Linked DNA regions of Homo sapiens: region 1 is linked to region 2. Evidence: promoter capture Hi-C in human tissues and cell types (Jung and others, 2019). All regions are on one chromosome and are shown on one strand. The core of a region is centred on a gene start or on the middle of the fragment in contact, and the rest is flanking DNA. Distances in the headings are between cores, read along the strand shown. Region 1 overlaps ERN1 (endoplasmic reticulum to nucleus signaling 1). Region 2 holds the start of CSH2 (chorionic somatomammotropin hormone 2).

Region 1 (5,455 bases), core at 2,592-5,091, 240 kb after region 2:
TTGATGAAGCCAACATTCTTTTAATGTCAGTGCCAAGGAAACGCGCATTACTGATCAGCACAGGACAACTCCTTTGAACTGTAAGGCCCATTTTAATGACCAAGCATAAACTGATGGGCCCCACACAGTAAGCTATGGCTGCTTCACTTGGTAGCAATAAGATGCTCACACAAAAGAAAGCCTATTCTGATACTGACTTTTTCATGTCAATATTACATCAGATTTCTGTAATTTCAGCATAGGTTTTCTATTATCTAGGCTTCTCTGAGAAGCGATCTTTATGCAGCCTCACACGTTTGAATAGAGATTGGAAAGCACAAGAAACTGCTGGGAAGACTGTGCTGGCACAACCAAACCTTCCGAGTTGAGGCTCGAAAACAGGACTCAGAAAAAGGGGCAAAGCATGAGGAACCGGCCAAGAGCGAACAACGTTGCTTTCTCCAGCTTATCAAGTGGTCGGCAGGAAACAGAAGCAGGAAAGAATTACCAGCCAGAAGATAGCAAACCTATGGGCTCAAAGAGGAGGCCTTTCCAGACATCAAAGGAAGAACTCCCTCGTGAAAAGGGAAAAATGGCTGTCCCAGGCAGGAATGGACAAGGGACCATATTATAAAATATTTTTTAAAAGTTTGTTTTTATTTTTTACATTGACATATAAAATTTATATATACTTATGGTATACAACATGATGTTCTGATATATGTACACATTGTGGAATGGCTATAATGATCCTATAAAGGATATTCTCTGCTGTCATTCTCAGTTTTCCCAGGAATCTCTCTTTCTAAAGTCACTACCCTGGTCAGGCTTCCGCCTAGCCTGGAGGTCATCCAATGTTTTTTTTTTTTTTTGAGACAGAGTTTGACTCTTGTTGTCTAAGCTGGAGTGCAATGGCGCAATCTCGGCTCACGGCAACCTCCACCTCCTGGGTTCAAGCGATTCTCCTGCCTCAGCCTCCCGAGTAGCTGGGATTACAGGCACATGCCACCATGCCCAGCTAATTTTTTGTATTTTTAGTAGAAACGAGGTTTCACCATGTTAGCCAGGCTGGTCTCAAACTCCTGACTTTAGGTGATCCATCCACCTCAGCCTCCCAAAGTGCTGGGATTACAGGCATGAGCCATCGCGCCCGGCCAGGTCATCCAATCTTATTGCCATCTTCTCTAGGTCCCAGAAGTGGACCTGGGCATCTGGATTGTGGGGCAAGGTGGCTAAGCTTCCACATTTGTTTTTTCTTTTAAAAACTGAAGAATAGCAACATCTCTCTAAACACTAAGAAAGCAAAACAAATATTGAGAATTTCAAAAGTAAGAGTTATACAAATATTAAGGGAGACTATTTAATTTAAAAAAAAATTGGTGGCAGCCAAAGAAATCATCAGGAAGTAAACCAAACTCAAAAACCTGATAATCCACTGCTCCTCATCTCTTACCTCCATTGCTCCTCATCTCTTACCCTCATGGGCAGACAGCAATAATGTAACAACTGGTGCTAGGAGACAATCAGGAATAATTAAGGAAGAGTTAAAATATGTTTGGCTCGTGGTGTTCAAGAAGGAAGCAGTGGCCGGGAGCAGTGGCTCATGCCTGTAATCCCAGCACTTTGGGATGCCAAGGTGGGCAGATCACTTGAGGTCAGGAGTTCAAGACCAGCCTAGCCAACGTGGTAAAACCCCATCTCTATTAAATACTCAAAAATTAGCCGGACACGGTGGCACATGCTTGTAATCCCAGCTCCTCGAGTGGGTGAGGCAGGAGAATCACTTGAACCCAGGAGGTGGACAGCGCAGTGAGCTGAGATTGCACCATTGCACTCCAGCTTGGGCGACAGACCGAGACTCTGTCTCAAAAAAAAAAAAAAAGAAGAAGAAGAAGGAAGCAGAGTATAACTGCTGAGGAGGTTGTCAGTAAACATTACTATATTTTAAGTTATGGGATTGTATTTCCATCATTTGGAAACTCACCTATGATGCTGCGGCTAAACGATTCAATAGATACTTGTTAAGTTCAGTGTAGTTCCTGAGCAGTATAATGTGGTTGTTAAAAAGGTAGATTGTGGAGCCAGACCACCTCAGGCAATCACTTACCTCTCTGTGCCTTCAGTTTCTCATCCATAAAATGGGGATAATGCTAATTAACTTTAAAAAGTTGTTGGGAAAAGCTTCTGCACAGCTGAACACATGGAGATTCCTGATGGGTGGGGCATACCCCAAGGGCATGAGATCTCCATGCCCCTTCCCGCATGCCTTGCCCTATGCGTCTCTTCATCTGTATCCTTTATCATAAACCAGTAAATGCAAAAGTCACCAACTCTAGTCTAATTGGAGTGGGCTACACACAGACTCTGAGGCCTGGTGTGAGGCTCACACTGTCTGCTCTGGTAGACAAGAGATCATCAATGCTGGAGATCACAAACTTGGGTGTGCTCTGGAGGTGGAGGCTTAATCTAGCTGAAAGAAACCTCTGGGAATGGATATCAGAAGATCGGGCCTTAATATATTTCCACTGTGACTAGCAGGCTTTTTTCCCAAGAAGGTGATCCAAAGGATGATCTAAACAAAAGCTGTATTTTAAATATTTTAACAGTTACTGGTTAGTTGGTTCCCTGGCTATCTAGTTACCAGTGCGGCATCATGCAGTGACCTATATGTTTAAGCTGTTAAATGTGCTACCCCCACCAATAATGAGATAGACTTTCATGAGAACTGTGCAGCTGTGTGGATGTTTGTTTTTATGTTCCCTTAACCACTGCATATTGCCATTGAATGAGATGGATCAGTGGATATTTTAGGATGAGGTTAAAAACATTTTATTAAATTCAACCATGATTCACATTACTTTTGCTATCCTAGACCATTACAAATTATGAATAAAACAAGTATACATAATTAGTGGCTCCAAGTATTCGCAGAGTTAAACATTTCCAGCTATGGCCAAATCTCCCTGGTATCTAACACTTTATTTTTCCAGAGCATTTTGCCCTTTACGTAAATCTTTTTTTTTTTTTGAGACAGAGTCTCGCTCTGTCACCCAGGCTGGAGTGCAGTGGCGTGATCCCGGCTCACTGCAACCTCTGCCTCCCAGGTTCCAGCAATTTTCCCGCCTCAGCCTCTGGAGTAGCTGGGATTATAGGCACGAGTCACCATGCCGCCAGGCAATTTTTTTGTTTTGTTTTGTTTTGGAGACAGAGTCTCACTCTGTCGCCCAGGCTGGAGTGCAGTGGCGTGATCTCGGCCCACTGCAACCTTCACCTCCTGGGTTCAAGCAATTCTCTGCCTCAGCCTCCCGAGTAGCTGGGATTACAGGCGCCCACCACCATGCCCGGCTAATTTTTGTATTTTCAGTAGAGATGGGGGTTTCACCATCTTGGCCAGGCTGGTCTTGAACTCCTGACCTTGTGATCCACCCACCTCGGCCTCCCAAAGTGCTGGGATTACCGGCGTGAACCACCGTGCCCGGTGACCTTTACCTAAATCTATGCCACAAAGTCCTCTGTGTCCCTAGAATAATTCCATGGGCTTTCAAAGACTGTAATAAGAAGGTAAATGCTAAAAAAAAAAAAAAAAAAGCTTTTGCAAGGAGTGTTGAGTCAACATAAGTAAAGCTCTTGAACGGGCCTAATATACAGTAAGCATCATGTAAGTGTCAGTTACTATTATTCATTAAGAACTGTATGAGACACTAGGATCTAATCACAACAAATGAGATCTGGTTTCCTGCTTTCATGGAGCTTACAGTCCAATAGGAGACCCCAGTAATCAATAATGACACAAACATAAAATGACAAATTGTAGTAAGTGCCATGAAAGGGACATACTGGAAACTGCGACAGCATAACAGAAGAAGAGCATCTGGTCTTGTGATGGTGGGGGAAGCACAGTGTTAAAAATGATGTTTGAGTTAAGATCTATAGGAAAGGGAGAAGGAAAGAAGAATTTCCTGGGCAGAGGGAATAGCCTATGCAAAATTCTGAGACTGCAGAGAATTTGTTGTGTTTGAGGACCCGGTGGACCAGTGTAGCTGGACAGAGAAGGCAGAGGGGATATGGGACACGGTGAGGTTGGGGGAGAAGTCCCAGAATGGCGTGGGCCACAAGAGTCAGAATCTTTTTTTTACGTGTCTTATTTGTTATCTATGCAGCTGAAGGAAAGAACAGGAAGGTTGCTGTTCACATCGTTGTAAAGCCACCTGGAAGAAAAAAAAGCACTCTCCCTAAGGTGAGGCGTGTAATACACCAACCACAATCTGTTCACACTCTCGGTGAGTCTCCTCCAGTGTTTTAATTTATACTAACATTCGACTGATGTTGCCTAGCTGGTTTACAGCTGAATATTAGCAGAACACATCAGAACTTCGTAGGAGAGCGTAGTAAATATGGCTGTTTTTGTGATGAAATGTGGCCTTCAGAACAAACCCCAAGGCAGGTTTTCTTGCTTCCTAAGACTCCTCATTTGAGGGGGAGCCATTTCTCTGACTAGCCATCATGCATGGAATCAGAAAGCTCCCTCTGAAGGGTTGAGGAGTTAAACCTGCACCTTCCCGTCTTTTTAATCTTCCAGGCGCCCCATCTCCACAGTACCTGCAGTCAGTGCCAGGACTATTTTCATTACAAGAGGCAGAAATCTTGGGGATACTAAACTTACAGGACAAGGTAAGTCATTGGCTCATGGTCTCACATTACTCAAGTAGGCTGGCAAGGACTTCAGGATTTGCCAATCTCTTCCAGGCACTCCCTGCCTCATACTTCTTCCTGTTGGCTGACTCTTCTATTTCAACTCCTGTGTGCTAGTTCACTTACTCCAACCCTGCCCCTAAGCTGGACTCTTATCCTACATATATGCAGAAAGAAGGGTCCTGTTACACACAAGGCAATGCCGCCCCAAGGCCTGTAAAACTCCTGGCTTCAAGGGGTTTGCCGTCTAGCAGGAGAGTCGTGTAATGCAGAAAAAAAGACGGCAAGTTCCATGGCCGAACTTCCCGAAAGCTGACTTGGCAGCATATCCAGGTCCTGCCCAGAGCAGTTCCAAGAGTCTGGTCCCACCCTACCCTGCTCAGCTGTCTTCTCACTCCTTGCCCTAGCCTGTGTCCATATAGCTTCAAAACCTGTTATTTTATCCTCTCAAAACTCTTTGGTTTAAAAACAAAACCAAAGTTCCTCAGGTATCCTCATGAGTCTGGAACATATAGATGCTTTTGGGGTGAATGAAGCTGACAGAAGATGAGGTGGGCACACAGATGCATGGTCTGGTTTGAGCTCTGGGCAAGTCATTAGATTTTTCCAGGCATGGGTTTCCAAGAAAGTAAGAAGCCTGAGGTGGATGGTGGCTGCAGCTCTGAAGCATGATGATCCATGACTTACCAGACCCTCATCTCTCCTCAGGCTTTGCTGCAGCTTCTTCTAGCCCCAACCAATCAAAACATGCCCAAAATCCGCATAACAATTTGACAGAGTTTAG
Region 2 (5,535 bases), core at 928-3,427:
CCTAATTCAGATTCCAAATGCTCTGGTTCTGTATGTCTCAAACTCATTTTTGCATTGTTCTCATTTCCCGAGAGTAGTTGGGCTTAAGGAATATTCATCCTAAAATTCTTCTGAACACAAGTAATTCTATGCCATTGTTTCCTCACCTGTTGGGGAGTTTTTGCCTCTGCACTTAATAGCCCATCTTGTTTTCATTTCTTCCCGCTCCTGGAGGGCTAGGTTTGGTGTTGCTGGTGATGGTGGGGGAGGAAGAAATGCCTTCAAGTCATCTCTGGGATGACCAATGAGCTGTGACCAGCAAGCTGGGACCACTGAGCTGGTGGAATGGCCTTAGTGAGTAATAGCGGTGATGTGTCAGCCTTTTTCTGGCCCAGGAACAGCCAAGCCTCTTATATTTCAGCGGCCTAGTTCCCAATAGACCTTGAAGGCCCTCCAGGTCTTCTTTCCACCTACCCCTTGCTCCATACCACCACCTTCCACCCCATAATATTATAGAATGACACCTAGTCAGATGAAATGATACAACTTAATTTTATTAGGACAAGGCTGATGGGCACTGGAGTGGCACCTTCCAGGGCCAGGAGAGGCACTGGGGAGGGGTCGGTCACAGGATGCCACGCGGGCACCTAGAAGCCACAGCTACCCTCTACAGAGCGGCACTGCACCATGCGCAGGAATGTCTCGACCTTGTCCATGTCCTTCCTGAAGCAGTAGAGCAGCCCGTAGTTCTTGAGCAGTGCGTCATGGTTGTGTGAGTTTGTGTCAAACTTGCTGTAGGTCTGCTTGAGGATCTGCCCAGTCCGGCGGCTGCCGTCTTCCAGCCTCTGCAAAGTGAAGGAAGAGAAGGAGAGGCCAAGCGCTTGGGCACTGTTCCCTCCCTCTCTCATTCATCCATTTTCCTCCCTCCCCTTCAGGGTGTAGAGAAGGGCCTGGAGGATTCACCAGGCGAAATGAAGAATAAGGTGAGTTCTCTTGGGTCAGCGCCTGACTGCTACAAAGAGGGCAGCAGTGTTTCTCTCCCCCAGCCCTCTAAGCCAGTGGGGTTCCAGGATTGGCGACCCCTGGCGCCACCCTCACCCCCATCAGCGTTTGGATGCCTTCCTCTAGGTCCTTTAGGAGGTGATAGTCATCGCTGTCCGAGGTGTCATACACCAGGTTGTTGGCGAACATACTCCTGAGGAACCGCACGGGCTCCAGCCACGACTCGATGAGCAGCAGGGAGATGCGGAGCAGCTCTAGATTCTGCAGGGGAAGGACCGGCAGTGGCTGTGCTGCCCGGGAGCCCTGACCACAGGTCTCCCCCATCCCCGCCTAGGGGAGACGGCATCCACTCACGGATTTCTGTTGCGTTTCCTCCATGTTGGAGGGTGTCGGAATAGAGTCTGAGAAGCAGAAGGAGGTCTGGGAGTCATGCAGGAATGAATACTTCTGGTCCTTTGGGATATAGGTTTCTTCCTAGGAGAAGGACCCCCCACCAAGAAGGACTGCTGGTTTCTATGCTGGAGACCAGCTCCCATTGTTGCTTTTCTGGGAACCTGGCTCAGCCTATGCTCATCTGCCTGCATTTTCGCTTCAGAAAACAACCCTGAGCTCCTTAGTCTCCTCCCATTACTTCCCCAGTGGGGGAAAGTCACCCCTTCTTGCCACCCCTGACCCGCACCCATTCCCCAAGAACTTACAAACTCCTGGTAGGTGTCAATGGCCAGCTGGTGCGCGCGATGGGCTTGGAGCATAGCGTGGTCAAAAAGCCTGGATAACGGAACGGTTTGGACGGCACCAGCCTCTTGAAGCCAGGGCAGGCAGAGCAGGGCAAAAGCCAGGAGCAGGGACGTCCGGGAGCCTGGGGAGAAACCGGAGGGCAATGGAGGGAGCCGGAGAGGAAGAGGCCAGCGCTCTCCCTGCTCCAGGAGCTGTTTGTTTTTTTCTCTCTCTCCATCCCTCCAGAGACCAGGAACATTCAGAGATTGGCCAAATATCTGGCCTTAGATGGCGATACTCACATTCATAAGCCCCAAACCTGAGGGTTAGTGCCCCCGTCCCATCTACAGGGCGCTGCCTCTCCCCTCAGGACACGTTGTGCCCAAAGGGATTTTAGGGGCGCTTACCTGCAGCCATTGCCGCTAGGTGAGCTGTCCACAGGACCCTGAGTGGTTCGGGGAGTTGGGCCTTGGGATCCTAGAGCCGGTCTCTTGTGGGCCCTTTTTATACCCTGGCCAGTTCTCTCTCCCTGCTTGACCCCACCTGTTTCTGTGTACATTTATGCATGGGGCCACTGACGGGCTTGTGCTAATGGATAATTTGGAAGCTCCTCCCACACATGCTGGGATCATGCCCCCTGGCTTGTCGTCTTTCCCTTCTCACCATCACCAGTGTTGTAAGGATTGTGCACAGAGTGTCAGCCACAGACTCCACCCAACTTGTCCTCTCTTTAAGGGTCAGGTGGGTGCCCTCTGGCCGCAGGCCATGTTGGTCAACCTGAATGCGGGGAAGGCTGTCAGGATAGCCAGTCCTTGAGACCCCTACCGACCCCATTCCACTCTCTATCCTATTCCTTTCCTCCTCCCCGCGTGTTTAACTTCCACCCACCAGACAGAATGTGTGTGTTGGGAAAAGGGGCCAAGCACAGCCAATAGATTGTGGGGGTTCTGAGCACCATTGAGTCCTGAATTCCACTTTTGCTGATGACTCCTGGGCCCACCTGAGTCAGCTGGATGCAGTGCTAACACTGACCACTAGAGAGAACCAACCCCACACATTGCTCTCCCCTTTCCCTGAACCTTGGGGCGGAGGCGGTGGGGCTCCCCCAGGTCACTGGGGACGAAGAACCCAGACTCAAGGTATTGCCTCAGCTCCTTGGACCTGCAGCAGAGACACAAACCAAGAAACAGAAATCCCGGGAACAGACACGGACCACAAGCGCTTCCTCCCACAGCCCTGAAACCATCAGAGAATCTCAAGGTTGGAAGAGCTCTTGAAGATTTGAGTCTCAGGGGAACATCACACTCTGGGGACTGTTGTGGGGTGGGGGGAGGGGGGAGGGATAGCTTTAGGAGATATACCTAATGCTAAATGACAAGTTAATGGGTGCAGCACACCAGCATGGCACAGGTATACACATGTAACTAACCTGCACATTGTGCACATGTACCCTAAAACTTAAAGTAAAAGAATAATAATAATTAAAAAAAAAGAAAAAAAAGATTTGAGTCTCTTCCCAGCTTTGGAACTCAGAACACATCACGCCGAAAGATGCCCTATCCAGCCATGGAAGCCCGTCCTCTTTTGTCTCTTCCTCCTTTCCAGACCTGTGTAGAGCTTATCCAGTTGTCAAAGGCCTGCCTGTGCATTCTCACGTCTGATCTGCCACTTGTCTTGTGTAGGAGGTATGAGTATCATCCCATTTCACAGATCAGGAGACTGAGGCTCAGAGAGACTGATTACATGAGCTACCTCAGCCAGGGCAGCAGATCTCCACAACCTTGCTCTTCCCACATTGCATCATTTAAAGTCCTTTCTCCAGGCCGGGCACGGTGGCTCATGCCTGTAATCCCAGCACTTTGGAAGACTGAGGTGGGTGGATCACTTGAGGTCAGTTCAAGGCCAGACTAGCCAACATGGCAAAACTCCATCTCTTAAAAGTACAAAAGTAGCTGTGTGTGGTGGCAGAAGCCTGCAATCCCAGTTACTCCGGAGGGTGAGGAGGTAGAATCGCTTGAACCCAGGACGCAGAGGTTGCCGTGAGCCAAGATTGGGCCATGGCACTCCAGCCTGGGCGCCAGAGTGAGACTCCATTTCAACAACCACAACAACGACGACAACAACAACAACAACAACAAAAGTCCTTTCTCCAGAGCAGGTGGTGTGGTGCTACTCAGTTATTTAGTTATTTTAGTTTCTTTTCTTTCCTTCTTTCTTTTTCTTTCTTTCTTTCTTTCTTTTCTTTCTTGCTTTCCTTTTTCTTTCTCTTTCTTTCTTTCTTTTTCTTTCTTTCTTTCTTTCCTTCCTTCCTTTCTTCCTTCCTTCCTTCTTTCCTTCCTTCCTTCTTTCTTTCTTTTTCTTTCTTTCTTTCTTTCTTTCTTTCTTTCTTTCTTTCTTTCTTTCTTTCTTTCTTTCCTTCCTTCCTTTCTTCCTTCCTTCCTTCTTTCCTTCCTTCCTTCTTTCTTTCTTTCTTGTTTTTGATGGAGTCTCATTCTGTCTCCCAGGCTGGAGTGCAGTGGCATGATCTTGCCTCACTGCAACCTCCACCTCCTGGGTTCCAGTGATTCTCCCGCCTCAGCCTCCCAAGTAGCTGGGATTACAGGTGCCCACCACTATGCCGGGCTAAGTTTTGTACTTTTTTAGTAGAGACGGGGTTTCACTATGTTGGCCAGGCTGGTCTCGAACTCTTGACTTTAGGTGATCCACCCTCCCTGGCCTCCCAAAGTACTGAGATTAATGGCGTGAGTCACCGCCCCCAACCCAGTTATTTCAGCTTCTAAATCTCTCTGAGTGCAGGGATCCTGTCCCCAACACAAGGGGCCCTTTGCCTGATTTTGTCTTTCCATAAGGGGCAGATTGTTCTTTCTCAATTCCCAGGTGAGAATGGCCCAGTGGCATGGGGTGCCTTGTGGAAACCTCGTAGCAGGACAAGGTGAAGGCAGAGAAGGCCAGGACTGAGCCTCCTGTCTCCTGGTGCCCAGGGTTGGGGCTATTTCCATACCACCTGGAGGTCACAAGCATCAGATGCCCCCAGAGATGAGAGCAGGAAAGAACACCCTCTGTAGTGGTGAAATCTTCTCCCACCCTGAGTTTAAGAGCATGTAGCACTTGATGCTGTAGAAACACAAGCAAGCAAACAGGCAAATGCTTCTAGAAGTGGTTGGCTGTGGTGTTGGCAACCAACATTGAAAACCCACACCCCTGTGGCCTAGGATGTGAATGCTGGGGCCCTGCCATCTCCCCACTTTCAGAGCGGAAGACAGAGCTCCTTTTTTTGCCATCATTCCTGAAGCATTACCGGACCAGCACCCCAGACTCATCACCTGCTGGGAGGGCACTGTGCTGTGGGCTGTTCTCCAGGGAAGCCTGTGTGAGGATCCAAGAGGGGTGTCATCAATGATACCAGCTCTGAGAAATATGGGGTCAAGGGAGGGTGGTGTCACCACTTTCCCCTGCTCCTCCCAGCACCAGCAAAGAGGAGGAGCCAGGTGGGAATGGAAGTGGGTCCCTGAGCTCCAAGTAGAAGAGGGTCCCTGCCTCCCTCACCATCCTTCTTCCAATGTCAGCTGGGACAGGGAGCCCCCATGACAGGACCTTTTAGCCAGTTCTGGGGACTTAGATGTGGATTTTTGGCCATTCGTAAGGGAAGCCTCCCTTAGGAATGAGGGGGGCAGGGGCTCTAGCTGGGGACTACTGCATAACTCCACAGGTGGGCACAGGGGTGCCGAGGTTACTGCCAGGAACATGTGGGACCAGCCAGGGAAGGGGAGTGTCTCCTCTCACCTCTCCACTTCTGTTGACCCCAGAGTTATAGTGACTCAGAGGACGTTAGGGACC

Evidence for each region. Contacts are between HindIII fragments. The study calls those that stand out against the background at their distance.
Region 1: a fragment that was not itself captured here is called in contact with the fragment with the promoter of CSH2 in region 2 in 1 of the 25 tissues and cell types used here (aorta).

What each region holds. Positions count from the first base shown.
Region 1 is chr17:64,110,522-64,115,976 of GRCh38, forward strand. The region is part of intron 1 of ERN1 (endoplasmic reticulum to nucleus signaling 1); the gene reads right to left. Among named protein-coding and RNA genes, the nearest start is that of ERN1, 17 kb to the right of the region's middle. The HindIII fragment of the contact is 4,307 bases long and covers 1,689-5,455 here.
Region 2 is chr17:63,871,500-63,877,034 of GRCh38, forward strand. It overlaps CSH2 (chorionic somatomammotropin hormone 2), which reads right to left and starts at 2,178. Exons shown (of 5, transcript NM_020991.4): 1 at 2,106-2,178; 2 at 1,680-1,840; 3 at 1,336-1,455; 4 at 1,078-1,242; 5 at 517-824. The coding sequence starts at 2,115. The coding sequence ends at 627. The HindIII fragment of the contact is 22,462 bases long and covers 1-5,535 here.